6 separate regions of the Homo sapiens genome follow, and all the other regions are linked to region 2. The links are contacts of gene promoters, found by promoter capture Hi-C in blood cells and fetal thymus (Javierre and others, 2016). All regions are on one chromosome and are shown on one strand. Each heading gives the region's core, a stretch centred on a gene start or on the middle of the fragment in contact. The rest is flanking DNA. Distances are from core to core; before and after follow the strand shown.

Evidence for each region. The method cuts DNA at HindIII sites, captures the fragments that hold promoters and counts their contacts. A CHiCAGO score of 5 or more calls a contact.
Region 1: a contact is called between a fragment that was not itself captured here and the fragment with the promoter of RARA in region 2, in 5 of 17 cell types (activated CD4 T cells, total CD8 T cells, naive CD8 T cells and 2 more). The highest score is 6.4, in activated CD4 T cells.
Region 3: a contact is called between a fragment that was not itself captured here and the fragment with the promoter of RARA in region 2, in 4 of 17 cell types (M2 macrophages, monocytes, endothelial precursors and 1 more). The highest score is 6.3, in M2 macrophages.
Region 4: a fragment that was not itself captured here is called in contact with the fragment with the promoter of RARA in region 2 in 1 of 17 cell types (neutrophils); the score reaches 6.1 in neutrophils.
Region 5: a fragment that was not itself captured here is called in contact with the fragment with the promoter of RARA in region 2 in 1 of 17 cell types (neutrophils); the score reaches 5.3 in neutrophils.
Region 6: a fragment that was not itself captured here is called in contact with the fragment with the promoter of RARA in region 2 in 1 of 17 cell types (naive CD4 T cells); the score reaches 5.0 in naive CD4 T cells.

Annotation. Positions count from the first base shown.
Region 1 is chr17:40,509,660-40,514,702 of GRCh38, reverse strand. No RefSeq gene overlaps it. Among named protein-coding and RNA genes, the nearest start is that of TNS4, 11 kb to the right of the region's middle. The HindIII fragment of the contact is 5,091 bases long and covers 1-4,000 here.
Region 2 is chr17:40,306,638-40,311,396 of GRCh38, reverse strand. It overlaps RARA (retinoic acid receptor alpha), which reads right to left and starts at 2,217. Exons shown (of 9, transcript NM_000964.4): 1 at 2,111-2,217. RefSeq lists enhancers at 1,021-1,904, 2,216-2,345, 2,356-2,525, 1,905-2,790. The HindIII fragment of the contact is 5,393 bases long and covers 1,417-4,759 here.
Region 3 is chr17:40,443,141-40,447,749 of GRCh38, reverse strand. It overlaps IGFBP4 (insulin like growth factor binding protein 4), which reads right to left and starts at 4,300. Exons shown (of 4, transcript NM_001552.3): 1 at 3,666-4,300. The coding sequence starts at 4,014. RefSeq lists silencers at 4,094-4,143, 4,154-4,203, 4,214-4,403. The HindIII fragment of the contact is 929 bases long and covers 2,346-3,274 here.
Region 4 is chr17:40,063,136-40,068,235 of GRCh38, reverse strand. The region is part of intron 1 of THRA (thyroid hormone receptor alpha); the gene reads right to left. Among named protein-coding and RNA genes, the nearest start is that of THRA, 2.7 kb to the right of the region's middle. RefSeq lists silencers at 4,769-4,868, 5,069-5,100. The HindIII fragment of the contact is 1,656 bases long and covers 1,215-2,870 here.
Region 5 is chr17:40,109,833-40,114,572 of GRCh38, reverse strand. No RefSeq gene overlaps it. Among named protein-coding and RNA genes, the nearest start is that of MSL1, 9.8 kb to the left of the region's middle. RefSeq lists enhancers at 1-711, 742-801, 822-1,041, 3,498-4,438. The HindIII fragment of the contact is 2,120 bases long and covers 1,972-4,091 here.
Region 6 is chr17:40,489,271-40,493,806 of GRCh38, reverse strand. All of the region lies in intron 2 of TNS4 (tensin 4), which reads left to right. Among named protein-coding and RNA genes, the nearest start is that of TNS4, 10 kb to the left of the region's middle. RefSeq lists enhancers at 1-330, 2,695-3,320. The HindIII fragment of the contact is 1,364 bases long and covers 2,587-3,950 here.

The DNA.
Region 1 (5,043 bases), core at 206-2,705, 200 kb before region 2:
TGTCCTCCCCACCCCCATCATGCCCTCTGTGGGGCAGCCCAGGCAGACTTTCCAACACACAGATCTGGTTGTGTCCATCCCCTGCTTGAAATCCTTCATGCTTCCCAATGCCTCGCCAGCCTAACATCCCCGCACCATCATTGCCAACATGCCACTTTGTATTATCCAACTCTTCCAAGTTATTCCACATTTCCCTGCCACATGTTCATTCCTTTGCACTTGCTGAGTCTGCTGCTTTTTGTTTGTTTATTCAGACAGGATCTCACTCTGTCACCCAGGCTTGAGTGCAGTGGCACCATCATAGCTCATTGCAGCCTCAAATTCCTGGGCTCAAGGGATCCTCCTACCTCAGCCTCCCAAGTAGCTAGGACTACAGATGTGCACCACTGCACCCAACCTGAACCCACTTTCTAAACTCAATGACCTCTGCTTTTGTCCACCTGGCAAATAACCCTTCTCGTTGTATCTCAGCCCTGCCTCCTCTAGCAAGTGGGAGCACGGAGGTCCTGATTCCCTCCGTGCTCCCACTGTGCTGCTCACCTCCTCCTCGGCAGAGCAAGGACATCATGAAATAGCCATCGTTAAACTGCAGGTCTGCCTTCTCCACTAGACTGTGAGCTCCTCCTTGAGAACAGGGACATTATTTTATTTTTGTTTCCCCAGCACCTTAGCACAGAGCCTGCTCCCAGGAATCCCTCCATATATGAAGTGACTAAGCTAAGGTGACCCCACTGGACAGTGTCTGAACCACGATGACACTCATTCCCACCTTCTCTCCTTCTGCTGGATAGAGCCACCAAGTACAGGTGACATGTGCCTGTTAAGGTGAGGGACAAAATAGAGCAGTGCTTCATCTACCAACATGGCACTCCTGAACCCTCCCAGCAGGGTTATAATAGTGGGGACAGGGTGCACCAAACCATCAGTGGCCTCTCAGGTTGGATGCAGGGTCACACCAACAGACAGGTGTGGAACCTGGGCAGAGCAAGGAGATTCTGTCCCACTGGGCACTAAAGACAGCCTTGGCCTCAGGGACCCTGGATTCTACCCATGTGGCCCAAATGGCCAGAGAGCATCTGGAGCTAGATCTGCTATCTTCCTGGGTGATAAAAGTCAGGAAGGTCTTCTAGATCTTCACTTGAGGAGCCTATTTTTCAGGGCAGTTTAATTCCACATTGTTTGTTCTCTGCTCTGCAGACGCCTAGGAATTCTGTGCCAGGAACCAAGCTGAGAAACTCCGCTGAGGAAACCACGGGAATCTCATTTGAAGATTCAAATGGAAAAGCTGCTTCTCCTCTCTGAGCCTCAATTTTCCCGTTTGTAAAATGGTAACTTGTACCCAAGTCCATTCCAGCTCAAAAATACTATGATTCCTTTCTTAACTAGGAGGAGTTAAGGGGAAGAAAACTATTATTTCAACTGTGATCTCACCAAGGAACAAGTCTGAGGACTGAGTCGGGGGCCAGTGGCATGGTGTGGAGCACTCAGCATTCGGGGATGACCACCCTCTGCCCAGCCCCTCCCCTGGTACCTGTTACTCTAGGGGAGTCCCCTTCTCCTTTCTTGGTTTCCTTGTCTATAAAAGAGAATGATGCCAGCCACACCAGAGGACCACCGTAAGGAGAAATGCAATGTATTATATAAAGTGCCTGGAGCGGGCCAGGCGTGGTGGCTCACGCCTGTAATCCCAGCACTTTGGGAGGCCGAGGCGAGCGGATCACGAGGTCAGGAGATTGAGACCATCCTGGCTAGCACGGTGAAACCCTGTCTCTACTAAAAATATTTAAAAAATTAGCCGGGCATGGTGGCGGGCACCTGCAGTCTCAGCTACTCGGGAGGCTGAGGCAGGAGAATGGCGTGAAACCCGGGAGGCGGAGCTTGCAGTGAGCCGAGATTGCGCCACTGCACTCCAGCCAGGGTGACAGAGCGAGACTCCGTCTCAAAAAAAAAAAAGTGCCTGGAGCAGTCCTTGACCCATAGCTGACAAATCATTATCGACATAGTTTCCTTTCCCTGGGTAACAAGTGCTGGGTGCCTCCCCTGCTCAGCCTGCAGAGCCTGGAGACCAGAACACTCTACTCTCACTCACCGCCTCCGTCCACCCCAATCCGTGGCTTCCCTCCCCGTCAAGCTCAGCTCCTTGCCCGAGTTGGTCCAAAGGCCAGAGTGGCCAGGTGAGCGTGGTTAGCCACAGACGTGACCACCCAAGACCCCATGACCCGAGTGGCAAGCCTGAATCCACACCGAGGCCTGAATCCACACCGAGGCCTGGGGACCAAGTCCAGTGCTTTTGTCACAAAATAGCAGACCCCATGCGATGCAGGCCCAAGGGCTCACTGCCTACTCGCTGTCCATCCATCTCCCTCTGTCCCCAGGTGACCCCATTGCATTCCTGTGGTTTGGGGTTTGCTGGTGTGGCGGCGGCGACTGAAGTCTTGGCACCCTCCCACCAGTGAGTGGGGAGGGGGCTCCAGGGGCCAAATTCCTCTTCAAATGAGATTCCCGTGGTTTCCTCAGCTGAGTTCCTCAGCTCGGTTCCTGGCACAGAACTCCGAGGCGTCTGCAGAGCAGAGAAAAAACAATGTGGAATTAAATTTCTCTGGAAAATAGGCTCCACAAGTGAAGAGCTAAGCATCTCTTTGGGCTTGGGTCCGATTGCTGTGCCCCGTGCCAGGATGGACTCCCTCCGCCCTACAGGCACGGCAGTTGAGCAAGCCCAACTCCTTCCCCCCACCCACCACCTCTCCCCACTGTCGGACCTCAGAGCTGTCACCAGAGATGGGCTTTGGCTTTTCCTAGACTCTGCTGAGGCACCCTGACCAGAGACAGCTGGGATCCCCGAAATAGGAGCATCCTCCTGGGATGGGGTCACACCAGCTCCAGCTCTGTCTGATGTTGTCGCCACCGCCAGGCAGGATTCAGGATCAGGTTGCAAAGACTAGGGGACATGGTGAGACAGGCTGTCTCCCTGGGTCCCCAAGCCTCAGCAGCATATTCTAAAGTGACAAACCCCAAGAGGCATGGAGGAGAAAAAGAAAAAGAGGTAAAGTCACCAGCTGACCTCTCCCAAGCCCCAGCCCAATACCATCTTTGATCCTGGCAGGAAAGGCCCCTGGACATACGGTTTATCCGTGCAATGGAATGTTATTCTGCCTTAGAAAGGAATGAGCTGCTGAAATGAGCTCCAGCATGGAGGAACCTGAAGTCATTATACTAAGTGAAAAAAGCCAGACACAAAAGGCTGCATAGTGTGTGACTCCATTTATATCAACTATCCAGAATAGGTAAAGCCATAAAGACAGAATACAGATTAGTGGTTGCCAGGGCCTGGAGGAGAGGGAGATGGGAGTGACTGCTTAATAGGTATAGAGTTTCCTTTTGGGGCTATAAAAATGTTCTGGACCGAAATAGAGGTGGTGGTTGCACAACATTGTGAATGTATTAAATTCACAATGGTGAATTTGATGTCATACATATTTTACTACAATAAAAGGACAAAATGAAAGGCCCTTGGCCTGGGTCCCCGGCTATAGAGGAATTCTGCTCTGGTCACCCCCATAGAATGAAGAATCTGTGGGTCCGAGTGGATGTCACCAGAACCACAGCCTCCCTTCTAGACCATGCATTGCCCATGGAGGACCATGGTATTCCTGCCCATACAGCCCTGAAACTCTTCTCCAGGTTAATTTCCCCAAAGCAAGTCACACCCTGGGCCCAAGGGATAGCTGTTTGAAGGAGAGCGGTTAGAATTTGGCTTCTCCAGGCTCTTCTGTCCCCCAACTTCTGGTGCAGGATGAAGCCAGGAATGAGAAGGTAAAAGGACCAGACCACCAGCGAGGGACTGGGATCCAGGGGCCAGCCCTCCCCAGGCAGCTACCTCCTGGCACAGAACTCCTAGTTGTCAGAGAATTATGATTTTGACCCTGGCCTTCACAGTCATTATTTTAAAAAAAAATCAAGGTAGATGGATAGAACATATTTTATTAACAGTTTGTAAGCTTGACTTATGACTTTTGAATATTTAGACTTATGGTATGTATTCATCTTCTACTTCTATATAAAAAATGACCACAGATTTAGTGGCTTAAAACAACACCCATTTATTAACTCACAGTTAACACGTGGCTCCAGGGATGCCGTGTGCAAAAGGGCTGCCCCATGTTGTCAGTGACAACAAGCCAAACCCCAGAAGGGAAGACAAAGGTGGGCATGCCGCGGTGGGGCCAGGGAGGTGTGAGAGCACAGCATGTCCTCTTACTCAGCTGCCAGGCTCAGCAGGAGGCTTGACTCATCCCATGAGCTCACCTTGGGCCTAGGGCCATGCAGGATCGCACACGAGCTGGCCGGGGATGCCCTTCTCCTGGCCAGCGTCTGGACAGACGGTCCAGCAGCTTGGGTCATTGCTGCACAGGTACCGATGCCTCCAAGAGCAGCCCTGCACTTCCCCTCCTCCAAGGACAGCGAGAGGTCCAGGAGGGCAAGCCCAAGGACGGCAGTGCCCAGCCCCCCGCCTATCTGTTTCTGGGCACAGATGGCTGATTTGCTTTTCAGATCTAACTGAGGTGTACAAATCAGCAAATTATGTCCCAAAGCCAAGAACAACTTCCTTGGTTCTGAGAGGCCCACATAACTTACCCCTGGTCACGGTGATCTAGACTTGGTCTGAGAGGCCTGGCTCTGACGTGAGGAAGGAAGGGAGTGGGAAAAGAAAGGGTCATTCTAATCAGAACCACACCTGTTCTTGGGCTCACCCGGTGCTGCTCCCCAGAGAGCACAGAGCAGAGCAGATGTTGAGGTTCTGGCCCTGAGTCCAGGGAGACAGGTATTCTTAGGACCACAGGACCCTATGCAGGGGTGGGGCTTGCACAGGCTACCCTGCATCACCTCCACATCCACACTGTCAGGGTCCAGGGAGGATCGTGGAAGGCAAGGACCTGAGTTTCAGTCTGGCATTATCACCCCATTGGCAATGGAGCCCATAGGCAACCCCCACACTAAGCCTCAGCTCACCTGTCAGTCCAATGAGGTTGCACATACATACTC
Region 2 (4,759 bases), core at 968-3,467:
TGTGTTTCCTCCTCTCCTAGTCTCCAGACCCCAGCCTGTTCATTCCTGAGCTTCCTCTGGCACCCCTTCCTTGGGGCCAAGCCAAGTAAGAAATCAGCAGGCCCAAGGTGGTGCTTGGGAGGCCGGGGCAGTGCCAGGGGCAGTCCTCATACCATCCTCCCACTGGCTTCCCTCCTGCCTGCTCTTAGCCGCCACACATATCTCAGCTGTCGAATCCGATTAGGGCTCCTGCCCAGTGAGCCAGACAAGGAGGCCACTGGGCAGGGGAGAGAGAGACAAGGACGCCAAGCAGGGATGGCAGAAGGAAGGTGGAGACATGGCTCAGGGGAGCAAGTATGGGGCCCCAGAGGAAGAAATGCCTGGTGGAGAGATCTGTACTCTGTGACCACAGGTGCTCTGGTAACAGCTACAACCTGCATTAGGGGAATTCTGCAGTAACCGGGGCAATAGCCCTGCCTAGTTCCTCCATCCCCCAGATGGGCAAAGGATGGGGGAAGAAAACTAAAGGCGGAGAGATTGACCTAGATTTAGGAAGAGGATTCCATCCTAGATTCCCCCAGCCATTACTACCGTTTGCAGTGAGCTTTACGATACATTGTCTCTGTGGTTTTAGTGGCAATGTCCCTGCTTGCTACTGATAGCCATTTTTACAAATGGAGAAACTAAGGCTTAGCAAAGGGGAAGACCTATATAAACACATATAGTTAAGTAACCAGTCTAAGTCTCCAGTTCAGGCCTCTGATTCCTAGTTCACTGCTCACAGTCAGAATCTCTACTTTCCTTGTTGGATCAAGACCAGAACGAAGTCTGAAGCCAATTCATTATCCACCCTGTCCTCTAAAACCAACCTTTAGGGGACCCGGGGAGCCATGGAAGAATGCAGAGCACACCCCACACCTAGACAGAGCTACCAGATGGGGACATGCCACCCATTCCTATCATACATTGATTGCTAGAGGAGTTCCCTCAGTGTGACCAGTCTCTTCTATCACCCCCCTCCCCAGTCTACTACCCCCAGAAGCAAGACACACACTCACACATGGTAAGTCAGACAAGGTGTACACCCTTCCTGTAAACCCACCAAACCAGAATGACACGCCCTAGATCTTCAGAGAGCAGGGCCTGTCTGCCCACCACAGGAGAGAAAAATAAGCCACTGTAAACAGTAGGTGCCATCTAGCCCTCTCCCAGAGAGCCTGTAGCGGGGCAGAAGCTTGGGGACCTTGTAGCTCTAGAGAAACACCAGGAGCCTGAGATTCTGAAAGCCAAGAAGCTCAGGGAGCTGGCAAGGCTGGGTGACCTCCTCAATCTGGTCCACACCCCCTTCCCTAGCCATCTGGACTGAGCCTGTTCTGGCCTGGGCCACACTCTGGTATCCCTCCCCTTCAATGCATGCAGCCACCTCTATCCAAAGCTTCTAGATCTTACAACCACATTGTCCCTACACACACACACACACAGGTGGGGTCGGGGGGCTTCTGCAGCAGGTGTTGAAATGTTGACATGGATGGGGGCTCTAAGCTGAAAGAACTTTCCTAGAGGAAAAGCTCACCAAAATGCTCACAACCTCCACTACCCTCTAGCAAAGCCTTTAGCCACCCAAGTGTGAGATGAACCTGGAAGGGGACATTAGTTCCCCTACAAGGTGTGTAGGGAGTAGGGGCAAAGTCCTGAGCTCTTTGGGTGAGGAAGCAAGAAAGAAATCCCTTGGGAAAGCTCAGGTCCCTCTCTGGCTCTCTCCTCTCTCTGTTACCTCAGCACTTGCCAATTCTCCAGTCTAGGTGAGGTGGGGGAAGGGGTATTAGGCAATACCGCAAAGGAGGGTGCAAGGGCGTGGGGCCTGGGCAGACCTTCCCCCTACTCCCCACTCTTATCTAGAGAACGGGAACTGCCTCAGGAGAAATGCAGGAAGGGTGCTGGAGGGTGCAGAGGGCTCTGAGCTTTCAGACACCCCACTGTTCCCAGGCTCCCACCTCCCAGGACTACAGTGAGCGACGGGAGAGGAGGGATGGGGAAAGCCAGAACTGGCGAGAAGGAAATGGCTAGATCAGAAGCAGAGGCCGGGGTCAAAGGCGGCCAAAGAATTGGGAAGGGGTGTGCATGGTCCTACCTGCTCAGGTGTGTGCTGGCAGGGGGCCGATGGGGTTCCCAGGAGAACCGGGGAAGCCCTCTCAGCTCGATTCAGGATTCCCCCCTGCTTCTGGGTTAGGCTGCTGCAAGAGGCACGGGTTCCCGTTGGGTCCTAAAGCCCACTCGCCAACTAGAAGGCTCTCCCCGCCCTCTTCCACCAGCCAGCCCCGACTGGGTCAGCGGGCGCAGAGCGAAGGACTGATGGGGGAGAAGTAACCCACTGGAAGAAAGATGGGCGTCTGGTCATCGGCTGGGGACAGGAACAGTTCCCTGTCTCAAATACACAGCATATGGATAACTCGAGGATAGGATGACCTGAAACAGGAGAAAATAGACATTTCTTCCTGCCTGCCCTGAGCAGATGGATTTAGGTTTTGGTGCTGGAGGTGGGGTTAAGATCTCTTTCCCTGCCACTCCTGCTAAGGCATTCAGCTAGAGATTTTGGAAAGGGAGCATTCATTTTGGTTGGGCGCTCACTTCTGTCCTCTTCCTCATGGACTGCAGGAGTCCCTTCATCCCTCCCAATTATTCCCAAGGACCTAGGAGGCCATAGAGGGTGAAAAAAGATTTTCAGCATGTAAAAAGTGCAGGCTCACTTAGATGGCAGCTGGAAACAGGGGAAACATGTAGGACCAATGTATGTGTATCTGGGAATGTGTGGGGTCTGCAAATACACATATATAGGCAAGAGTATAAACAGGTGGGGTTAGGGAAGGAGAAAAAAACAAAAAAGAACTTTGGGTTACACCTATTACTGGAAATGGTAATTGTCAGTGGAAGAACAGGACGTAGAACCTAGAGGTCAACTAGTGCCCCTACCCAGCCCTCAGTAATGTCCCGAATCTTTATGACCAGAATAAACAAGTTAAAGAGAGAATATTTTCCTAGATACCATTTAGGATAAATATAGGGGCAGAGGGACCTCAATACAACAGATCAACTTCAAGGTCACTGATTCAGTTTAGTATAGCCAGTCTTCTCAGTAGCTCAAAAGGGAGAATTCAGGTTTGGTGGGCTAGATGGGCAAGAGAAAGCTGGATAAGAATTCTGAAGTTGTGGATTGAGAACATTTTGCAAGGAGAGTTGCACATATCTCTAGCAGCAGAGCAGGGAAAACGTCATGAGGGGAAGGGCCAGAGGAAGTCAGCGACAGACTTGAGGGGAGAGGGCATGGCCTCTCCCTAGAAGGGGAGAAGACACCAGCAATGCCTCCACCTCTGTCTTGCAGGAAGAACTGAGTAAAGGAGCTGGACTAAGGATGGAAGGCCCCAGGGTGGAGTCCATGGGGTGAGTTTAGGTCAAACCTTTCACCCTAATGTGCCTCAGTTCTCTCCCAGCTGTTAAACAGGGCTCTTCGTTCTTCCCAGGCAGTTAATGAGTGTTTACAAAAGGGTTTGGAGATCCTCAGATCTCAGCTGGGCCACCACTACAGTTATAAAGTTCAATAAGAGCTGAGTGTTATTTGGGGAGGAGAGGAGTAGGGGAAGGAAACAGATACTCTCTTATAAACTAAGGATAAAACTAAGCTCAGAGAGAAGCACAAGCCTAGCTGCCACAGGATATCCTTGTGCCCATGGATGGAGGTCACCCCACCCCCCCATCAACCACCACCAAAGGCTGGCCTCCAGCTAGCTGTAGGCAGAACCCAGACTAGCAGCTGGTCTTCATTAACTCCAGCTTTTTCACCCCCCACTGTGAACCCACAGCTTCTACAGGCCTAGGCTAGAGGGGGCTGCCCTAGCCCGACCTTGCAGCTGACACTGGGGTGGGGGGCACCGCACCAAAGGCCAAGTTACCAGCTGAAAAGAAAGTTGAAGCAAGAGTCCTTTTTCCCATTGGGAGCAAGAAGAAAGCAGTGTGGGGGTGAGAGGGTGGAGGTGGGGGAATTTAGGGCAAACAGCAGGCAGTGAAGTCAGCTGGATTGAGGCCCAGAAACCCCCACACCCTGGGGCCAAGTCTTACTCTAGCTTTGCTTTCAGCTTAAGTCTTGGCGAGGCCCCAAACTAGGGAAGGCCCTGGTTGCCCCTTTCCGCCTCCCTACCCCCACCCTTATTAAATACACATTTTATCTCTCAGCATCTTCATTATCTTAACTGAAGGAGACAAGCAGTGGATGGCGGCAGCAGAGAGCGTCAGGAGCGGGGGGCGGTGCGGGGAGCAGGCGCACCCTTGTTATAAAGTGCTGATCTAGCTCTTTCAGGCAGTGTGGGAAACAGAGGAGGGATCAAAGGGAGTGAGGCTGATTCAGAACTCAATTAGAGCTTTTTAAAAAACGAAGCTGGCTCTCTCCTTTCACCAGTCTTCAGCCTTTACCCAAGCCCCTTGCACCCAATTAACTTCCACTACCAGTGCCTTGGGGCTGGGGTTGAAAATCAAGGGGAGGCCAGAGGGCACACCTTCTCCCCTTACGGAACACACCTCTTCTAAGAGGAAGACCTGCACTGTTTGTAGCTTAAGAGAAGGTATCTTAGAAAGTACCTTATCTTTTCAGGAAGAACCTGAGATCACAACTTGCCCCAAGTTAAAAAGAGGGACATCAAAGGTGGGCTCCTCCCTAAACCCTTGCCTACAGACCCAGCTTCTGGCCAATCTAGCCACACTGAGTGACATCCAGACAGGCAGCCCTCTT
Region 3 (4,609 bases), core at 1,561-4,060, 140 kb before region 2:
TCCCCACTTTAAAAATTAGGAAAATGAAGTAGACTGGGTGGAAGGGGAGGAGGAGAGACTTAGCTCTGCAGCACTCTGTCTTTAAGTGGAAAGACTCCTGATACCCGAGGCACCAATACTGCTAGCTTTGCCAGTACTAAATTAAAAATGGGAAGCGGCCATGCTCCTCCCTCCCCCTCCCCACAAGGCACAGAATTTCTGGGAATGCCCTTGTTCCCATGACATAACTGGATTCCCAGTACTGAAGTAGGGGGGCAGAATTTGCTGCATTGACTAAAAATTAACCCAGCCTGCCTGTTCCCTAACCCTGTCCCAAAGGGACTGAGAGCCCAGCTTAGGAACTCCCCGTCCAAACGCTGATCTTTCCGCTGTCCACTCCCCCAGATTCCATGAGTCTAGGATCAGTACCAGGATGCAGAGGTGTGGACTTTTGATGCACACGCCCCGCCTCATCTCTGGTGGCCTCAGTGGTGTTAAGCCACAACCTGGCCAGCACATGGAAAGCTGTGACAGGAGGGCAGGCAGGGGTGGCTGGAGACGGAAAGGGGAGATCTGCCCCTGGGGCAAACAGGAGGCAGCTGGACCATAGCAGCCAAAGAAGGGGGCATGCCAAGTGGCCACCCTCCCCCAGCCACCTGCTGACACTCAGCCCCAAAAGGAAAAGGCAGAAAAAATAGACAGGTACCCTCGACCAAGCTATTCGCGGGCCAGTGGGCCCAAACCTTGGGACCTAAAGCAGACAGTGGCCTACTGACTGTGTAAGGCTAAAAAGATGGGTGGGTAGGGGCTTGGTCGTCTTATCTCACCCACAGACCCTGCAGGGCTGCAGCAGAACTCTAGAGAGTGCCTTTTACATGGTGCCATGTGGCCCAGGTCACAGCAAGGGATTACTTCTATGATGACTAGGAGGTGTGGGAGGGCACGGGCATAGCTTGCTCAGTAGGTACCTCCAGGCTTCCCTCGTCTCTCTCCAGATACCTGCATCCATTGCATGGCTGGAGGCTGGAGGACAAGGCAAGGAGGAAAGGGGGAGGGGCATTACAGACCTTGGCTGTGTCATCCAAAGGGGACCTAAAGCCACCCCATTCCAAGACACCGTTTTTTGTTTTTTTTGTTTATTTGTTTTGTTTTCTTTAGACAGAGTCTCGCTCTGTCACCCAGGCTAAAGCGCAGTGGCACAATCTTGGTTCACTGCAACCTCCACCTCCCGGGTTCAAGTGATTCTCCTGCCTCAGCCTCCCAAGTAGCTGGGACTACAGGCACGCACCACCATGCCCAGCTAATTTTTGTATTTTTAGTAGAGACGAGGTTTCACCATGTTGACCAGGCTGGTCTCAAACTCCTGACCTCAGGTGATTCACCCTCCTCAGCCTCCCAAAATACTGAGATTACAGGTGTGAGCCACTGCACCCGGCCTACTTTTTTTTTTTTTTTTTTTTACGAAATAGAGTCGCCCAGGCTGGAGTGCAATCACGTGATCATAGCTCATTGTAACCTTGAACTTCTCATCTCAGACTCCCAAATACCTGGGACTACAGGCATGAGCCACTGCAGTTGCCTATTTTTTTTTTTTTTTTTTTGTAGAGACGGGGGTCTGGCTATATTGCTCAGGCTGGTCTCGAACTCCTGGCCTCAAGCAATCCTCCCAAAGTGCTGGGATTACAAGCATGAACCTCCACACCCAGCCCCTAGATATTCCTGGAGGCCAGTTTGCATTATATCCAGAGGACAACCACAAAATTCTCATGCCATGCCCTCCCCAAACCCCTAGGGGATCTTATTTTCCTCCACTACAGGATGGAGTATTCCTACCCAACCAGAGGATGAGGTATTCCTACCCAGCCCTTTGAGGGCTCTTCTGTCTTGCATTCAAAGTGCTGAGAGAGGAGGAGGCTACCAGCCATCCTTATCTGGTGCCAGATACCCTCTGGCTGGTGGAGGATGGAGATTCAAAGGGAACGTGACTCTGTTGTACCCCGCGAACCCAAGGGCTCGGCCCTTGCTCCCTCCCAGTCTCAGTACCCCTCCTCTACCATTGCCACTGGCATCTCTGCCCCAAGATTAGCGACTTTCTCCCCCAGGACCCCCCTTCCCAGATATGCTGGGTGCCAGGCTGGCATTTCTCCTAGAATGTTTTCTGCTGACCCATCTCTCCCTACCCAGGGGCAGGAAGGGCAGAGAGGCCCGAGGCCCAGACCCCTGGAGTCCACCTCCTTCCTGTTTTCCCTGCATCCTGCTCTCCTCGGCTGACAAGCTGCAGAGGATTGAGGAAGTGGAGGGTTTGGGTCCCAGGACAGGAAGCTTGGGGCTGGAGTCCCAGCATCCGGACTGCAACAATGGAAGCTTCAAGCACCAGGAAAAGAGACAGAGACAGACAGAGGCACAGGAGAGCAAAACAGGGTCGGAGATGGAATGAGAAACAGAGGCATAGATACAGAAAGACAGACAGAGAGATTCCCAAAGTAACAGGGAAAGACCAACAGTGACAGAGACACAGAGAAACAGCAACAGAAAGAGAGGGAGAGAAGCAGAGCAACTGAAACAGAAACACAGAATAAGGTGGAGAAAGAAACGCACGATGGGCAGAAGACACTGAGGAAAACAGAACTCGAGAGCATGACTAGTGAAACTAGAGGTTGAGAGACAAATCAGGAAGAACAAAAGAGCAAGAGAAAGAAGGAAAAGAGACTGAGAGTCTAAGGAGAAACTGAGAAACAAAAAAAGAAAGTGTAAGAATGAGGTTAGGGCAAGGGCCTTCTCAGAGTCTCTCTCTCTCTCTCTCTCTCTCTCTCTCTCTCTCTCTCTCTCTCTCTCTCTGTCTCTGTGTGTGTGTGTGTGTGTGTGTGTGTGTGTGTGTGTGTGTGTTTCTCTCTCTCTCTCTCTCTCTCTCTGTTTCTCTCCCCTGGCGCCCTGGCCCCTTCTCTATTCCCTATCCCACACACATGAGGCTCCTGCAGCTCTCGGCTAGGAGCCAAGACTTTTCTACCACCTCAAATCCTACCTGCCTGGAGAAAAGAACAGGGGGCCTGTATACCAGGGCAGGCAGAGGTGTCCAGGCCTGGCAGAGGGACCCCTGTCTTCCCACTGCCTCTCAAACAACAAGGTGACCTGGCTCTGGGCTTTGGGGAAGGGCAAGTCTAATGCCCCTCAACGCCAAAGTCCCTCTAATTTGTATGTCCCACTCCACCACTGGACCATGTAAAAAAAAAGTTCAGGCCCTGGCTCCCCAGACCACTGGGATTTCACCCTCGGCCTGGATCAGGAACAGAAAGCTTTCCCCACTCCCTCATCCTCCCCAACACACACCCCACCACCATCCTCCAGTTCTCTGGCCCTAGACAGCTGACTTAACTGGACCTTAATCTGCCACTCCTGCACCAGCAGCCAGGCCTCCCACTGGGACCCCCTTATCAAACAGACAACCCTTGGAGGTTTGAGATGGAGCGATGGGACAGTCTCCCTTGGTGGTGGCAACAGGCTGCTAGGGACTCGGTAGCAGTTTCCTTGATGAGCCTGTCCCATGCCAGTCGGGCCCTGCCACGTACCTGCCTTCTCTTCAACTCATAGGGGATTTTTAAGGGCCTTCCAGGGCGGCTGGAATGGGGAAGAAGCCGCTGGGAAGGGAGCGCACTCAGGAGGGAATTGGGAGGCCAGGGGTACCTTACCAGAGGGCTGCAGGCTTTCCTGGATGGCCTCGATCTCCGCCAGCTCCATGCACACGCCTTGCCCGTGCATCAGTGTGTGCAGGGGCTTCTCCACCCCTCGGGGCGGGTAGCAGCGCAGGCCCGAGCCGCAACGGGGGGTGTACACCCCGCAGGGCATCCCCAAGCCCAGGGCGCAAGTGGCGCAACAGCCGCAGCCCGGCTCTCGCACCAGCTCCTCGCAGCCCACGGGGGGGCGGCAGCGCGCCAGCTTCTCCTCGGAGCAGGGCGGGCAGTGGATGGCTTCGTCGCCCAGGCTCGGCCCGGGCCCGGCGGCCAGCAGCAGGGCGGCCACGAGGCAGAGGGGCAGCATGACCGCCCGAGGACTGGGCGCGGGCGCGGGGCGCTGGGCGCAGGCGGGGAGCGCGGGCGCGCGGGCGAGCGGCGGAGGGCACACGGCGGCAGCGCCTGGCGCTCCTGGAGGACCCGACCCGGAGGGCGCGGGGAGACGGGGCGGCCCGGCGGGCGAACGGGGACGTAGCGGGGGAAGTTAGCAGGCGTGCCGGAGGGGAGCAAGCCTGGCCGCCGAGGCGCTGCGCCGCATCCTCGGCCCGGCCCAGGCAGGCGGCGGGCGGCGAGGGGCAGGGGGCTGAGCGGCTGCCCGGGACCGGCTCCCCCGGACTTTATACCGGTCCCTGGCCACACCCCCAGCGCCTTCCCAGAGGTGGGGGAGCCGGGGCGGGCGAGGGGGAGAGGGAGAGGCGGCCGTTAGGGGGAGGGGGCGCTGTCCTGAGTCGCCGCCGCCGCCGCCGCCGCATCTGAAAGTCCTTTTCTGCCGAAGAAGGAAGCGGCGCAGTTTGGAAGCTGTAGCAGGCGCCCAGAGTGCCTCTGAACCGGAGCCCCGGAGGGGAGGCAAGGGAGAAGGGAAGCCAAGGGGCTGCTGCGGGGCCCCCTTTCCCGACCTCGGA
Region 4 (5,100 bases), core at 793-3,292, 240 kb after region 2:
TAGATAATGAAAACCCAGGCCCAAAGTCATACGACTAGTGAATGTCAACAGCCAGGCCTCCCAACTCCCAGCCAGTGATCTTCCCACCACGGTCATGCTTGCCTCCCTCCCCAAGAGACACAACAGTTCTCCAAAGTCCCCTAGACACCTTTGCAGCCATGAGAACTAGAGTTGGGTTTTTTGTTTTGTTTTCTGTCTGTTTTGAGAGGATGTGTGTGTGGGGGGTCTCACTCTGTTGTTCAGGCTAGAGTGCAGTGGCACAATCACAGCTCACCGCAGCCTCGACCTTCCAGGCTTAAGCGATCCTCCGGCCTCAGCCTCCCAAGTAGCTGGTAACACAGGCATGCGCCACCACACCTGGCTAACTTTTTAAAGTTGTTTTTAGAGATGGGGTCTCACTATGTTGACCAGGCTGATCATGAACTACTGGCCTCAAGTGATCCTCCCGCCTTGGCCTCCCAAAATATTGAGATTACAGGCATGAGCCACTGTGCCCAGCCGAGAACTAGAGTTGAGATTGGTTCCCACTCCAAAGGCTTCCCGTCACCCCTACAGGGTATCCTCCCATTGTCCTTCCTTCACCTTGAGGGGCAGGGCTAAATAAAAGGGGTTTGGAGAGGGGATCCTGATCACCAGACTCACAAAGGCAAAGAGGCAACCCAGGACAGATGCTGGATCTCAAAGTGCTGTGCCCACCACACTGGTCATTACTCAGTGCTTCAGTTTCTCTCTGCCACCACCTTTCACACTAAGTACCACTCCATGGAGGGCAGGGGAATCTGGTGCCTATCAGCCAGAGCTGGGTCCTGGTTGACCAATGCTGGGCTCCCAGGAGGGAGGAAGGGCACTGCCTCCTCTTTGAGCCCACACATAAGAGAGGGGACGGCTTTCCTTGTTCTCTCTCTCCCACCCCCAGAGCTCAGACCCTGAACAGAGATGCAGTGATGCCCAAAGATTTATGCAGGTGCCCCTAGCTGGTGGGGTGTGTCCCAGGCTGAGGGGCCAAGGGCTCCTTGTAAGCTGAAGGGCGAGGGTCAAAGGAGGGTGGGGCAGAGGGGCCTGCCTTGGGCTCTTTCCCATACACTCATTCCAGGCTGCAAAAATTTGTCTGGGAGGAAAAGATTACATGACGGTGAGAAGGCTGGAAATTGGAGACCCACTGCCCCAGGCCCCAGTCTCACTGATGTCTAGGAGACCCAATTCTCCACGAAGCTTCTCTAAGAAATCTGGGAGACCCCAGGCCCACAGCTTCCTTCACCCATCACAACCGCTCACATATACAGTTTGTTATGAACTAGGCACTTTTAAAAACATTTTTCCTCAAAAAAGCTAAATGAGGTAGATATGATCATCCCCAATTTACAGATGAGGCAACGGGGAAGTTAAATCGCTTGCTCAAAGTCACACATCCAGCAAGTGACAGAGCTGGGATTCAGACCTAGGCAGTCCAGGTCAATCATGGCCGTCATGATCATCACCATCATCTCTGTTCTTAGCTGTGATGGTATATCACCTGCTTGATAGATAATGCCTTGTTCTTTTTTGTTTTTCTTTTTTTTTTTTTTTTTTTTTGAGACGGAGTCTCGCTCTGTCACCCAGTCTGTAGTGCAGTGGTACAATCTCAGCTCACTGCAACCTCCACCTCCTGGGTTCAAGCGATTCTCCTGCCTCAGCCTCCTGAGTAGCTGGGATTACAGGACCCCGCCACCACACCCAGCTAAGTTTTGTATTTTTAGTAGAGATGGGGTTTCACCATCTTGGTCAGACTGGTCTTGAACTCCTGACCTCAGGTGATCTGCCTGCCTCCGCCTCCCAGTGTGCTAGGATTACGGGTGTGAGCCACTGTGCCCGGCCCAATGCCTTGTTCTTTCATCCAGCTATGTGTTCCCTGAGACCAAGCCTCAGTCTTTCCCCTCTGTAGCTGCCCTGTGGGTTCTCTGCCAAGTGCCTCCACCTCCAAATAGTCCAAGGCTAGAGGGGAGCATAGCGAGAAGTGCTTGGTGCCCCCGGGCTCGATGTCTCCTGCCTGAGTTCCCCCTCCTCAAATTCCCTCTCCAGAAGAGGTACCCCTTCTAGGCTGGAACCTGCACTCACGGGTGGGAGGGCCTCGCTTAGTACATACTTAGTCTAGGCAGCTGTGCCCTCAGAACCAGGCCCTGAGGCTGGGCAAAAAGGACACAGCTGTTGGGCATCTCTGAGGTGGGCCTCAGCTGCCAGGGGTGTGGAGAAAGGCCATTGTGAGCCCTGCAGTGGACCCAACTCAGCAGGGTCCTGCCAGCTCCCGCCACTGCCCATGGGGGCGGTTCTTTTCCAGCTTGGGCCAGTGTGGGGGGAGCCTCTTCATGGCTTGTTTAAGAGCTGCTAGCTGGCTGCAGCCTGCACCCTGAGGGTGCCCACAGAACTGGTGTCTCCAGACATGCAGGCCCGAGGGGTCAGCATGGGCAGTGGCTGACCCCCCCCCCCTTCCCCCATTCCCAGCCCCTAAAACTTGCTGGCCACAGCTGCGGCACTAAGGAAGTGCAGGAAGTCCTGAGCAGCCAGCTGAGCCCCCCGCCCCCCACCCCAACCTCAAGCTGACCCCAGAGGCTGCGCAGGGGGGGCAGAGGGGCGGAGCTTGGGTATTAACAACTGGAAAAGTATGAAGAACATTGCTGCCAGTCCCCAGCTCTGAGACAAGGACAGGGGTAGATCGGGGGTAGCAACAGGGTGAGAGAGAGTTACAGACTGGCAGAGAAACAAGGAGAGAGAGAGGGAGAATCAGACACTGCAAGACAGAGCAACAGAGAGACAGAGTTAGAGAGAAATTCCAAGTCAAAAGTACATATCACTCACACAGACACTCGCCAGCCGATGGCCTCTTAAGGAAAGCTTCCAAGTTTGGACAGGAGGGTACAGGTGGGAAAAAGGGCCAGACTCAAGGTGGGGCGCAGGAACTCAGCTGGAAGTGACTGACTGTTCCCAGGAAAGACCCAGGCAAATGACTCAGAGCAGGGGCAGTTAGACACCCCTGAGCTTTTAGGGTAGGGAGGAGAGCAGCTCTCCCCTTCCCCAACAGTCAAGAGAATCCTAGCTTCTAGAAGTCACTGGACACTGCTTTGAGCCCATGACTCGGCCCTCTGGAACCCCCCTGAACCCACTGTCTTTGCTCTTGTTTCTCTGTCCCTCTAAAAGAAAGAAAGAAAAAAAAAACAGCCCATTCCCGCACAGTGGCTGAGCCTAGAGGAAAAAGGGGAGGAGGAAGCTGAAGGGGAAAAATTTGTGATTGTGTGCATCTAAGTGTGTGCTCGGCTGCACAGGCTGCAGTTGTGTGTATCTGGGGTTGTGTGGACACGACTGTTGGTGTGGACCTGCAACTGTGGGGACCTGGGCCTTGTGAACTCATTCTGCACCTGAGTTCAGGGGACCATGTGCAAATGAGTGCACCTGTGTCTGCAGGTTCCACAGTCAATCAACTAACAAGTATTTACAGAGCAGCCCTTGTGCTAGGCTCTGCGTGGGATCCAGAGCTCTTTAAGTGATTCTCCCAGGTCTCCAAGAGCTCACTGTCTAGTAGGGTGGTATCTCAAGCGATAGAGACCAAGAACATGTCATTGGGAATGCATGCTTTACACCATTACGCAGGAACACTTTTTCATACAGCCAAATTTAATATTCTTGGGAGCAAGGGTTTTGTTGCCTACAGAACCTCAGAGCTCCACAGTAAAGAGTCCAGGAAAATACTTGTTGCTAAGTTGTGTATACATGTGTTGGTGTGTAACTGTGTTTGCATCTGACTGAGTGACAGCGACTGTCACGGCAAGCAATGATGTCTGTGTGACTGGGCTCATGCGAGCACGTGTGTGCCTGTGAGTGACAGGGTCTTTTGTAATTGTGCTGCTGTGTGCAATTGCTCTGTGTGCATGCATGCATGTGACAGTGACTTTTTATGTGTGGGTGACAGCAACTCCTCCTTGCCCCAGTGTGTGACAGCATCTACGTGTGACCCTGTGCGTGGGTATGTGCATGGATCGGTCCCCATGCTCTTGGTCTCCCATGGGTATATCCCACCCCTCAGAGCTCCACGGTGCAGCAGCAGCCTGTCTCTTCCCTTGTCCCCATGTGGGTGTGTCCAGTAGCTCCTGTCCTTGAGTCTGCCTGGGTGTCCCTGGATGTGCATGTGGCTGTCTGTGTGGACATATCTCTGTGTCTGCGTGTCACTTTTGCTTCCCCCCTCATTTTGGACAACAGCCCCCTTCATCCCCTCCCCCTCCTGGAGCCAAAGCCAGCACTGAGGGGCAGGCTCCCACCTCACTGGCTTTCCTTCTGTGTCCCCCACCCCCACCCCTGGAACGGTGGTTCTTTCAATTGCCCCTGTCATCCCCCCAGGCCTTTCTTTCACGCTGGACAAGGGAGGGCCCCAGATGGAGAAGGGGCACCAGAGACACGTTGCAAGGGGAGGGAAACAAGGTGGGGTACACACACACAGGTCCATTTCTCCCTCTCCTCCCCAGCCAGCAACTCTCCTAATCATCTAGGCACCACCAAGTACACCCCTTCCACACACACATTCCCCCCCAACAACCGCGTTTTTGCAATTAGCAGTGTTGCAACCAGACAGCCATGCTCAACCGGGAGGCGGGTGAGGCGGGGGAACTTCCCTCTCCCCGGACCCGTGCAAGCCCACCCGCGCCACCGCACTCATACTGCCCTCCGCAGCTGGAGGCAGCTTTGCAAAGGCCACTCGGGCCTCAGAGGCTAGGGGTGGGGGCTGGGGGGGCAGGCCTCCGGCGCACCGTAAACAAACCGCGGCGCGGCGGGCGGGGGAGCTCCGGCGGCCGGCAACGGGGCCCGGCCCGGGAATGCGCAGCAGACTGGCCGGACAGAGGCCGGGCGGGCCCTCCAGGGGGAGGCTCGGACGCCATCTCCGCCTGCGAACCCCGGGGCCCAGCGACCTCCTAGCAACACCTCCCTTCCCCAGGGCGTCAGTTGCAAGCTCCCGGGCTCGTGACAGGGTCACTGGGGCGCCAGGAAAGGCTGAGGCTGGCAGCAGGCACCCCCTGGGCGCCCCTAGCCCGCCTGGGAGCTGGCCACGGAGCCCCGCGGCTTTGCATAATCAATCGC
Region 5 (4,740 bases), core at 1,782-4,281, 200 kb after region 2:
CTGTGAGGGAGCCTAGGAAAACTGTGTTTAGGACCATAAATCAAGTCCTTAAGTCTTTTTTTTTTTTCTTTTTTTTGAGACGAAGCCTTGCTCTGTCACCCAGGTTGGACAGTGCAGTGGTGCAATCTCGGCTCACTGCAACCTCCACCTCCTGGGTTCAAGCAATTCTTTTCTGCCTCAGCCTCCCGAGTAGCTGGGATTCCAGGCGCCTGCCACCATGCCCGGCTAATTTTTGTATTTTTAGTAGAGACGGGGGTTTCACCATGTTGGCCGGGCTGGTCTCGAACTCCTGACCTCAGGTGATCCGCCCACCTCAGCCTCCCAAAATGCTGGGATTATAGTCACCGTGTCCGGATTGAGCCACAGTGTCGGGCCTCCCTAAGCAATTCTGTCCCTAATGAGATAATGACCATTCTTTTTGCCTTCTGGCTAAGAGTATGGAAAGAGTTAAAAGCCAATACTTTCACCACCCCTCTAAGGCTTATAGAATGGCAGAATTCCATTTCTATGACCTACATTCTTTGAAGGGAATGCCTATGTCGTGGAAAGAGGATGCAGCAAGACTTTTCACTTGACTGGGCTTGGTTTTCCCAGACCAAAAAATAAAATGGAAATAAATCATCTTTAAGGTCCCTTGCAGCTTTATGACTGTATAAAGCTACGTTTTCCAGCTAACAGTGGGGCAGAAGTAGGTAGAAAAAAGAGGAGACTTGTTTTGGCCACTCCCCAGGGAAAGAGGATTCATCTGGGTGGTTTCCTGAAGCTCTCGGAAAGGTAAATAGAGACTGGAGTTGTGTGACTGGTATTACCCCAGTCCTGTGACACTGAAAGGACACCACAGTTGGAGAGGCCACCTTTGCCTTCTCCGGGAGGATGGGGGATGGGAAGCCAGCGTGGAGCCACAGAGGCTTCCAGCTCCGCAGCCTGGCCTGGCTCAGCTCTTTCTGGCAGAAACCATGTCCTGCGTTCCAGGCTTCCGCGAGCAGGATGCTAGTGTGCTGCTCTCCTGCTCCCCTCTGCGGGGGCCTCTCAGAGGGTAGGACACACCCTCCTTGCCTTTTTTTTTTCCCCCTATTAAAAATCACAACTCAAATTTGGGTATTTTTCTCCCTCTGCTAGCCCCGCCAAAACTTTCAGCGCGTTCCGCCCACTCCACGTGGACCTCCCTTCCCTGTCCCAGCAGCCCCTGCGAGAACCCTCACCCCAACATGTGACCAATTGTTATGTTTCCTTCCTGGAGCTCGCTTTCAGCTGGCACCAGCTAACGACTGAACAAAAGTGCCCCCTTCAGGGTGAATGTGGGGCAGCAGCTTGAGAGGAGGAAAGCTGATGAGGGCTCAGGTACAATAGGGGAATGCAGCTGCCTCTGTTTAAAATGATTTCATATCTACATAGCTCCCTGGCTAAGGATTACACAATCAAACGATGAGACAAATGCAAGAGAAGGATGTCATCAAATAAAATTACTTGGGGGTGGAGTTGAATAAAATTTTAATTTCCAGCTGCAAAGTTGGTTACCTCTACTCCAACTCCATTTCCCGTTGAGTTCTTCATGATGTTGGCAGAGCACTCAGATCCTCCCATTCCAGACAAGAGCCAAGAATGCCCTAATTATGGGCTGGGTGATGGGAACAGGGCCTCCTCTGGGTGGGTGAGCTGCTTTTTGCTCACTACCACTACCCGCTTCCCCAGCAACACTCTAGTTGTCTCTTTAAGAGCTCGGACTCCTCAAGCTGACATAGTTTCCAAAATGGAATCTCTCCCTCTCTCAGCACTGGGGAACATTTTCCCTGGATGGGAAGAGCCCCAGGAGATCATGTTGGAGGAAGGAGGAGTAGGGCGGGGCAGCAAAAATTAGTCCAGTGGGAAGCCTTGGTACATGGAACAAGGGGGCTAACCAGGGAAAGTTAGAAAATAGGTCAAAGGAAGCCATGCAGAGGGAACTAGTTTCCTTGGAAAAATTTCTAAGCTTTGTCCATTTTTCACCTCACTCCTATCCCCTACAGGAGATGTGGGATTGGGGGATTGGGTAGGGAACTGGGGGTGAGGGAACATTCAAGGTTGGAGGCTGACTTGGGGAAGGAGTTGTGGGCAAGGCTCAGAGGAGGAAAACTAGGACTAAGTAGTGCAGGTAGGGAGGGGTAAATTTAAAATCAGAATTATTGTGGGGCCATTTCTCCCTCCAAGGTCATAGGGGTCATGGACAGTGAATGGTCCAGAAGCTACAAGCCGGGGAGCCCTAGGAGGGGGATCTCAGTAGCCAGGAAGCACACTACCCAGGGGCATGTTAAACAGTAATTTATGGAAGACAATGGAAGTAGTCCTGGGGCACCTATTTTTCCGTGTGTGTATTTCAACTTTTATTTTAGATTCAGGGGGTACATATGCAGGTTTGTTACAAGGGTATATTGTGTAATGGTGAAGTTTGGGGTATGACTGAACCTGTCACCCAGGTAGTGAGCATAGTACCAATAGGTAGTTTTTCAATCCTTGCTGGGGCACGTGTTTTCAAGGGAAACAGCCCAAAAGCGATCAAACTAGAATGTTGAGGACTCTAGCCAGGACATTTGCTCTCCTATAACTCAGCATCTGTCAGCGCTCCCATTACCAGGTGCTATTTCCAGAGTCCTGGGCTTAGGGAGAGGGAAAGGGAGGGGCGGAGGTGGAGAGGCAGAGGGAGACCCGATGGGCTCCTCCCCCAGCACAACTGCAATTCCAGCTTTTAGCCACTCAGGGGCTCCCAAGCTCAACCACAGCCCCTGCGTAAGGAGGGAGATTGAGTTAACAAGCCTCCAGAGGACACCTTGGGTCATCAGGGATGACCCTGAGCAGAAGGGTGACCCAGAAGTCATGTGCTCTGAAGCTGCAAGTCCTTCACAAGCCAATGAGTCCAGCCTCAACCTTTCTCTCTAAAAGGGACTCAGGGCACTGAGAACTCACTCCCCACCTCTTACCCTCACCCCCTTCTTTGTGGTCATTTCCTCCCCCGCGTGTTTCCTTCCCCTCCCCCATCCTCGTGGTGGGAACCATCCCCCAGCCTGTCAGAGTCCTGAGGAATGTTTTTGCCTTGACTGGGCGCCAAGCTGTGGACTTCCTGGGCTTTGGGGTGGGACTTGGCCAAGGGGAAGCCCTTTGGACCCAAGAGCCACTCAGTTCTGCACAGCCTGCCGGCTTTCTCTCTCTCTCTGCTAAGCAAAAGGCTCATCCATCACTTTGTGTCACGACTGCCTCATTTCCTCCCCCCACAATAGGATTTCCTTGCCAGGGCAAATCACACAATCTGGAAGCAGTGGTCATCCTAAACACTGTGGCTTATAGTGGGAGAGAGGGAAAGCACCTATTTCAGAAGCTGCCTTCTCTGTTCCAGAAGGCTGGTAGCTGGAAGGAGGGATTCAGTTGCCAGGGTCCTGAGGTAAGGACTTTGTAAATGGTAATTAATCTTGAGGGCTCCTTCTGGATCCTTCTCAGAACCATTGAGTCTAAAGAAATACAGGGTCTCTATATTATAGTTAAGCCTGGGAGTACGTGGATTTCTGCATATCTGACTTTTACCCAGCCTTCGTTTCCCTGAAATAAATCAGCTGAAATCCGAACTCATTCTTCCACATCATCTTTCCAGTCCCCTGCAGCAGACCAGTGTAGGTTCAGCAAGAACAGGGAGCAGGCAGAAACCACTCCCAAATCTCATTAATAGAGACTGGGCCTGTCAGGGACCACTGGCTCCTCTCCAAGGGGTCACTGCTCAGGTGTTTTTGCATTTGATCTCTTCTGATCTCTTGTCCATAAAAAGCCCTCAAATGACAAAGTGAGAACATAGTCCTATGGCATCCCCTGCCTCAGGGTCCAGTCCCTCAATGCCACTTTTGCAGCCTGTCTGCCTGATGTCATCATCTGTAGACCTGTGCCAGATTCCCAGGTTCCTATCTTGAAATCTCAGCCCCCGCACCCAGGGCCTAGGGGAGAGCCAATGTAGGTCACTGCAGTTGAGCCTGCAGGGCTGTCTGCTCCTTGAGCCCAGAGCCTTTCAGGCACAGAGAGAAAGCCTTGCAGAGAAGCAAAAGAAAGGGCTCTGTGAGAATCAGAGAAAAGCTTATTCCTCAAAAAATGAAGCAGGGAGAGGCCAGGAGTCAGCTGCTCAGACTGAGACAGTAACAGGAGTTCTGCTCCTGAGAACTGCCTGTGATGGAGAGAAGGCCCAAGGAGAGGGGCTGGGCATGGCTCACATCCCTCCCAACCCCCTAACCCCCATTTGCCTGTGTAAGGGAACCCTTTGGATCTGGTGTCCATCCCTCATTCTCTACTCTCTTTCCAGGCTCAGGTTTCATTCTCAGGAGCTTTTGTGATTTGCCTTAGGGACCCTTTGTTTCCTCTGGCCACAGTTTCTGGGTCTCAGGAAGGTGGAGTAGGCCAGGGATGACCCCGCCCTCCCCTATTGAAAGACTTTTCCTGCTTGTTATCTGCTAAACTCATTTTACCCAGGGAACTTCCAACCTTCTGGGACTTCATTCCTTCTCTTGGTCTCCCTACCCTAGCATCTGAGATCGCAGGGAGTGTTTGTGTGTGCCTGTGTGCATGGTCCTCATCTTCTTTTAGTTACTCATGGGAAGTCAAGAGCCTATGGCTGTTAACTAACTTGGGGTCCCCATGGCCAGCAAAAATAGATAAGGGCTTAATTTCTACCTCCAGCCTCAAAACAATTTAAGCCACAATCATTTGTTCTAATAGGAGCCTCGGGACAGG
Region 6 (4,536 bases), core at 2,019-4,518, 180 kb before region 2:
AACTAGGCCCTTCCTCCACGGAAGGGGCTCATGATCAGCTTAGGGCTGATGGCATGGGTCCACATCCACAGATGCCCTGGGCACCACATGCCATTGTGAACATGTGTCCACCCAACTCTGGGGAACAGGGAATGTAAGGCAGGCAGTGGCCAGAGGGTCCTGAGGAAGCTGCCTCTCTGTGCCCTGGCCCCTTCTGATGGAGAAAAAAAATCTCTTCCTCTAACGTCTGCCTGGACACCTGCAATGCCTGGGAGCTCACTACCTCCTAAGACAACCCAGCCAGGTCAGCTCCCCACTGGGAAGTTCTCCACCATCACTAAGAACAGCAGACACCTGCACCCAAAATCCTCCCCGCAGACCCTACTGCTGGTGACAAATCTCTCACTGGCCTATAGCAGTGTACAACTCTGAGCGTTGTGGTGAGTTCTCTTACCTCGAAATGTATTCAGAGTGGAGGATCCCCTGCCATTTTACAATCTCATCCTTCCTACTTTTGGGCTGTTCAAGGAAAGACACTCTGACATTACCGTGCTAGGAGATGTTTACTTTTCCTTTTTGTCCTAACTTGGCAGAATTTAAAAATTAAACATTGGCAATTCTATATTGACATTTCCCCTAAATATATATACATATTTTTTTTGAGACAGAGTCTCGTTGTGTTGCCCAGCCTGGAGTGCAGTGGTGTGATCATAGCTCACTGCAGCCTTGAATGCCTGGGCTCAAGCAATCCTCCCACCTCAGCATCCCCAGTAGCTGGGACTACAGGCACATGTCACCACGCCCGGCTAATTTCTTATTTTTTTTTTCTTTGGTGGGTGATGGAGTCTTGCCTCCCAGGTTCAAGCGATTCTCATAGCTCAGACTCCTGAGTAGCAGGGATTACAGGTGCCCACCACTATGCCCAGCTAATTTTTTTGTATTTTTAGTAGAGACGGGGTTTCACCATGTTGGCCAGGCTGGTCTTGAACTCTTGACCTCGTCCACCTCGGTGATTCGCCCACCTTGGCCTCCCAAAGTGCTGGGATTACAGGTATGAGCCACCATGCCCTGCCAACCTGGCTAATTTTTAAACTTTTTGTAGAGATGGAGTCTCACCATGTTGCCCAGGCTACCTCAAGAAATCCTCCTTCCTCAGCCTCCCAAAGTTCTGGGATTACAGGCATGAGCCATATCACCCAGCCCAGGCTTAAAACAAAAAAAAAAAAAAAAAACTAGTCCATGTACCAGCCTGGCCAACATGGCGAAAACCCATCTCTACTAAAAATACAAAAATTAGTTGGGTGTGATGGCATGAACTTGTAGTCCCAACTATTGGGAGGCTGAGGTGGGAGAATCACTTGAGCCTTGGAGGTGGAGTCTGCAGTGAGCCAAGATCCCGCCACTGTAATCCAGCCTGGGCAACAGAGTGAGACCCTGTCTCAAAAAAAAAAAGACTCCATGTAATCCATGATCCCAGTGTCTGGCTTTTGAAGGAAATAGTGGAAACCTCCTTTTACAGATGAGGAAACTGAGGCTCGGGGTGGGTACGTGATGGCTCACAGTCACACAGTCAGGGAGAGATAGGTCAGGCCTCAAATCCCAGGCTCTGGGCTCCATAGGCCACTGTCCTTTCTCTCTTTCTAAAGTCTAGTCTTCTGCCCTCTGGGGCATCACGGAATCCATCCGTTTGGAGGCAGCCTGCAGGCTCCTCTTCTGAGGCGCGACCTCCTGGGTGCTTCACAAACCTTCCCCAGGTTCCCTGCCCCTGCCTTCCTTTAAACTTGCCCTGGGGGCCCCCATCCCACAGAGAATGTGGTTCCTAGAAGCAAACACCATATCCCTTTCTTTATCCTCTCCAACACCCCGCACCCCATCTTTGGAACAGGCCCCCCACTTTCATTTTCCAACAATGTCTGCCAGGCAAGGCTGTTTACCCGCCCCAAGTGAAGGGTATTTAATAAGTATCTCTCCACCCCTCACCCACACGCCCTCCCTCCACTCACCCGCCTGCCTGGGGCTGGCGCCGGCACCCACCCAGCACTGCTCAGACTTGCCCCACAGGCCAGTAAACAGCGACTGCACCCCTGCAATGGGTAGAGGCCCCAACCCCACCCCCCAGCCACACCCACCTTGAGGTGAGCACGGGGCTCCTCCCTCCCCTCCCGCTCTCCTTACTCAGTGACCCCAGCAAGGTCCCTGATGGATGTTTCAATGGCCCAGTGAGTAGGGAGCCCAGAGCTTCACTGTGCCAAGAGACCCTCCCCAAAGCAGCCAAGCACCTTCTCACAGGGCAAGGCCTTGGAGCAGGTTCCCAAGGAGCCCCTCCTCATCCTGGAAGAAGCAGTCCCTAAACAGAGCTCAACAACACTCCCTGGCTGTGCAGCATTGGATAACTCACTTCACCTTTCTGAGCCTTCCAGATTTCCCATCTGTTATATGGGCATTAATAATATCCCCTACTTCCACAGAGTTGTCATGAGGGTTAAAGGAGCTAATACAAGCAATGTGTTCGTAGTGGTCCTGGCACATTGCACTCAATAAAGACCAGTCTCTGTGAAACATCGTTGTACACTAAGTGTTAGCTCCATCCCCACTCTTCTCCAAGCTTCAGTTTCCTCCTCTGTAAAAAATAATGCCTGCCCTGCTCAAGGGCTATTATAAGGTTCAGAGGAGATTATGGGTGTAAACACTATAAAGTCCTATAAAAATTGAAGTTGTGCTTTCCAGCCTTCCAGAAGAATCCAACCCATTCCAAGATCTCTTTTCTTCCAGAGCCCACAATGCAGTGCCCCAAACACTCTCTTCTTGCAGTCATCTTTCTAAGCAGAGAGATCCCCACCTTAGCCAGAAAAGGGCTCCATTTGGCCAATACTGTCCCCAAAAAGCAGGCAGGTAGGAAATGCTCCTCTCTCGAGCCTCACCATGGGCCAGGCTCCCGGCTATTGTATTTCATCCTCATCACAACCTTGGAAGACTGGTTTCAGATCCTCACTTTGCAGATAAGGAAACTGAGGCTCAGAGAGGTTAGGAAAGTTGCACAATGCCCTTGGCTGAAAAGCAGCAAAGCCAGGACTCACCCCAGGTTTGTTTTGCTACAAAGCTAGGCTCTTCCTCCACCCGCTGAGCAGCAAGTCCCAGTCAGCTGCCAGCCCTTGCTCATCTGATGTAACTCCCCACCCCCACCGTGGCCCAAGCAAGCTCAGACAGAGGCAGTAACTGTGAGCAGGGCCAGATGGCCCTACCCAGGAGCGGGCTGGGGCAGGCTGGGGCTCCACAGTCATAATGGGGAGGAACAGTGCATGTGCCAGGGCCCCAGGCAGGTGGGAGCTGAGGGTGCACGTTCTCCCCAATTTCCCCAGCCTCCATCCCAGGAAGCTAGAGGCAAGACTCACACTCTTCAGAAAGGAGCGGCTCATTAACCCCCACCTTCCTCCAGCTTTGCTGGAACAGCACCAAGGACAATTCCCTTCCCCCAGGTCAGGAGGAAGGGTGTTCATCCTCACCTTGGGGAGAACCTCAGAGCAGCCCACTGCAAGGCCGACCTCGGGAGAGGAACAAGGCCTCAGAATCCCAAGAGTCCTGGATGCCCCGACCAGGGAGTGGAAAGAGCGCTGGAGCGCGTCGGCAGCCTGGGGTGTGTTGGGTGACCCCTGTGTACCAGCTACCATCCCCAGGAGATCCATAGCTCAAGAATGCAGCAAGCCCTGTGCTCAGGGAGTGCCTGCTCCAAAGCAGGGTTCTCAGACTCCACTGCATATTCACATGCCCTGGGTGGCCTCGCTAAAATGCAGATTATGTTTCTGTAGGGGTGGAGCCCAGGTGATGTGGTCCTGCTGAGCCATTCATGGTCTACTGGACTCACCTGAAAAACTGGAAAACAAACAAAACTGAGGCCTGGGTTCACCCCCTGGAGAGTTTAATCTAATTGGCACAAGGCGCAGCCTGGGGTGAGTCTAGTGTGTAACCAAGCTTGAGAATCCCTGCTTTCACTGCAGGTACAGAGAAACCACTTCCTTTTTTTTTTTTTTTTTGGAGATGGGGCTTCACTCTTGTCACTCAGGCTGGAGTGCAGTGGCGCAATCTCGGCTCACTGCAACCTCTGCCTCCCGGGTTCAAGCGATTCTTGTACCTCAGCCTCCCAAGTAGCTGGGATTACAGGTGCCCGGCTAATTTTTGTATTTTTGGTAGAGATGGGGTTTGCCATGTTGGCCAGGCTGGTCTTGAACTCCTGACCTCAGGTGATCCACCCGCCTAGGCCTCCCAAAGTGCTGGGATTCCAGGTGTGAGCCACCGCGCCCAGCCTCAGAGAAACCACTTTCACACATCCTGAGTAGCAGAGGCATCAGAAAGTGTCACTGGTACAACCCATCAAGTGGCCATTTCAACCTAGGAACAGGGCACAGACAAAGGAGAGAGTTGCCCAGTTTTTAAGCACCTGGTCTGTGCCGGGAACAGTGCTGTGCTGCCTACATGAGTTTCACTTCATCCTTTTTGTATCACCAAAAGGCTGAATGCAGTTGCCCCACTTTACAGGTGTGGAAACTGAGGCCCTGGGTG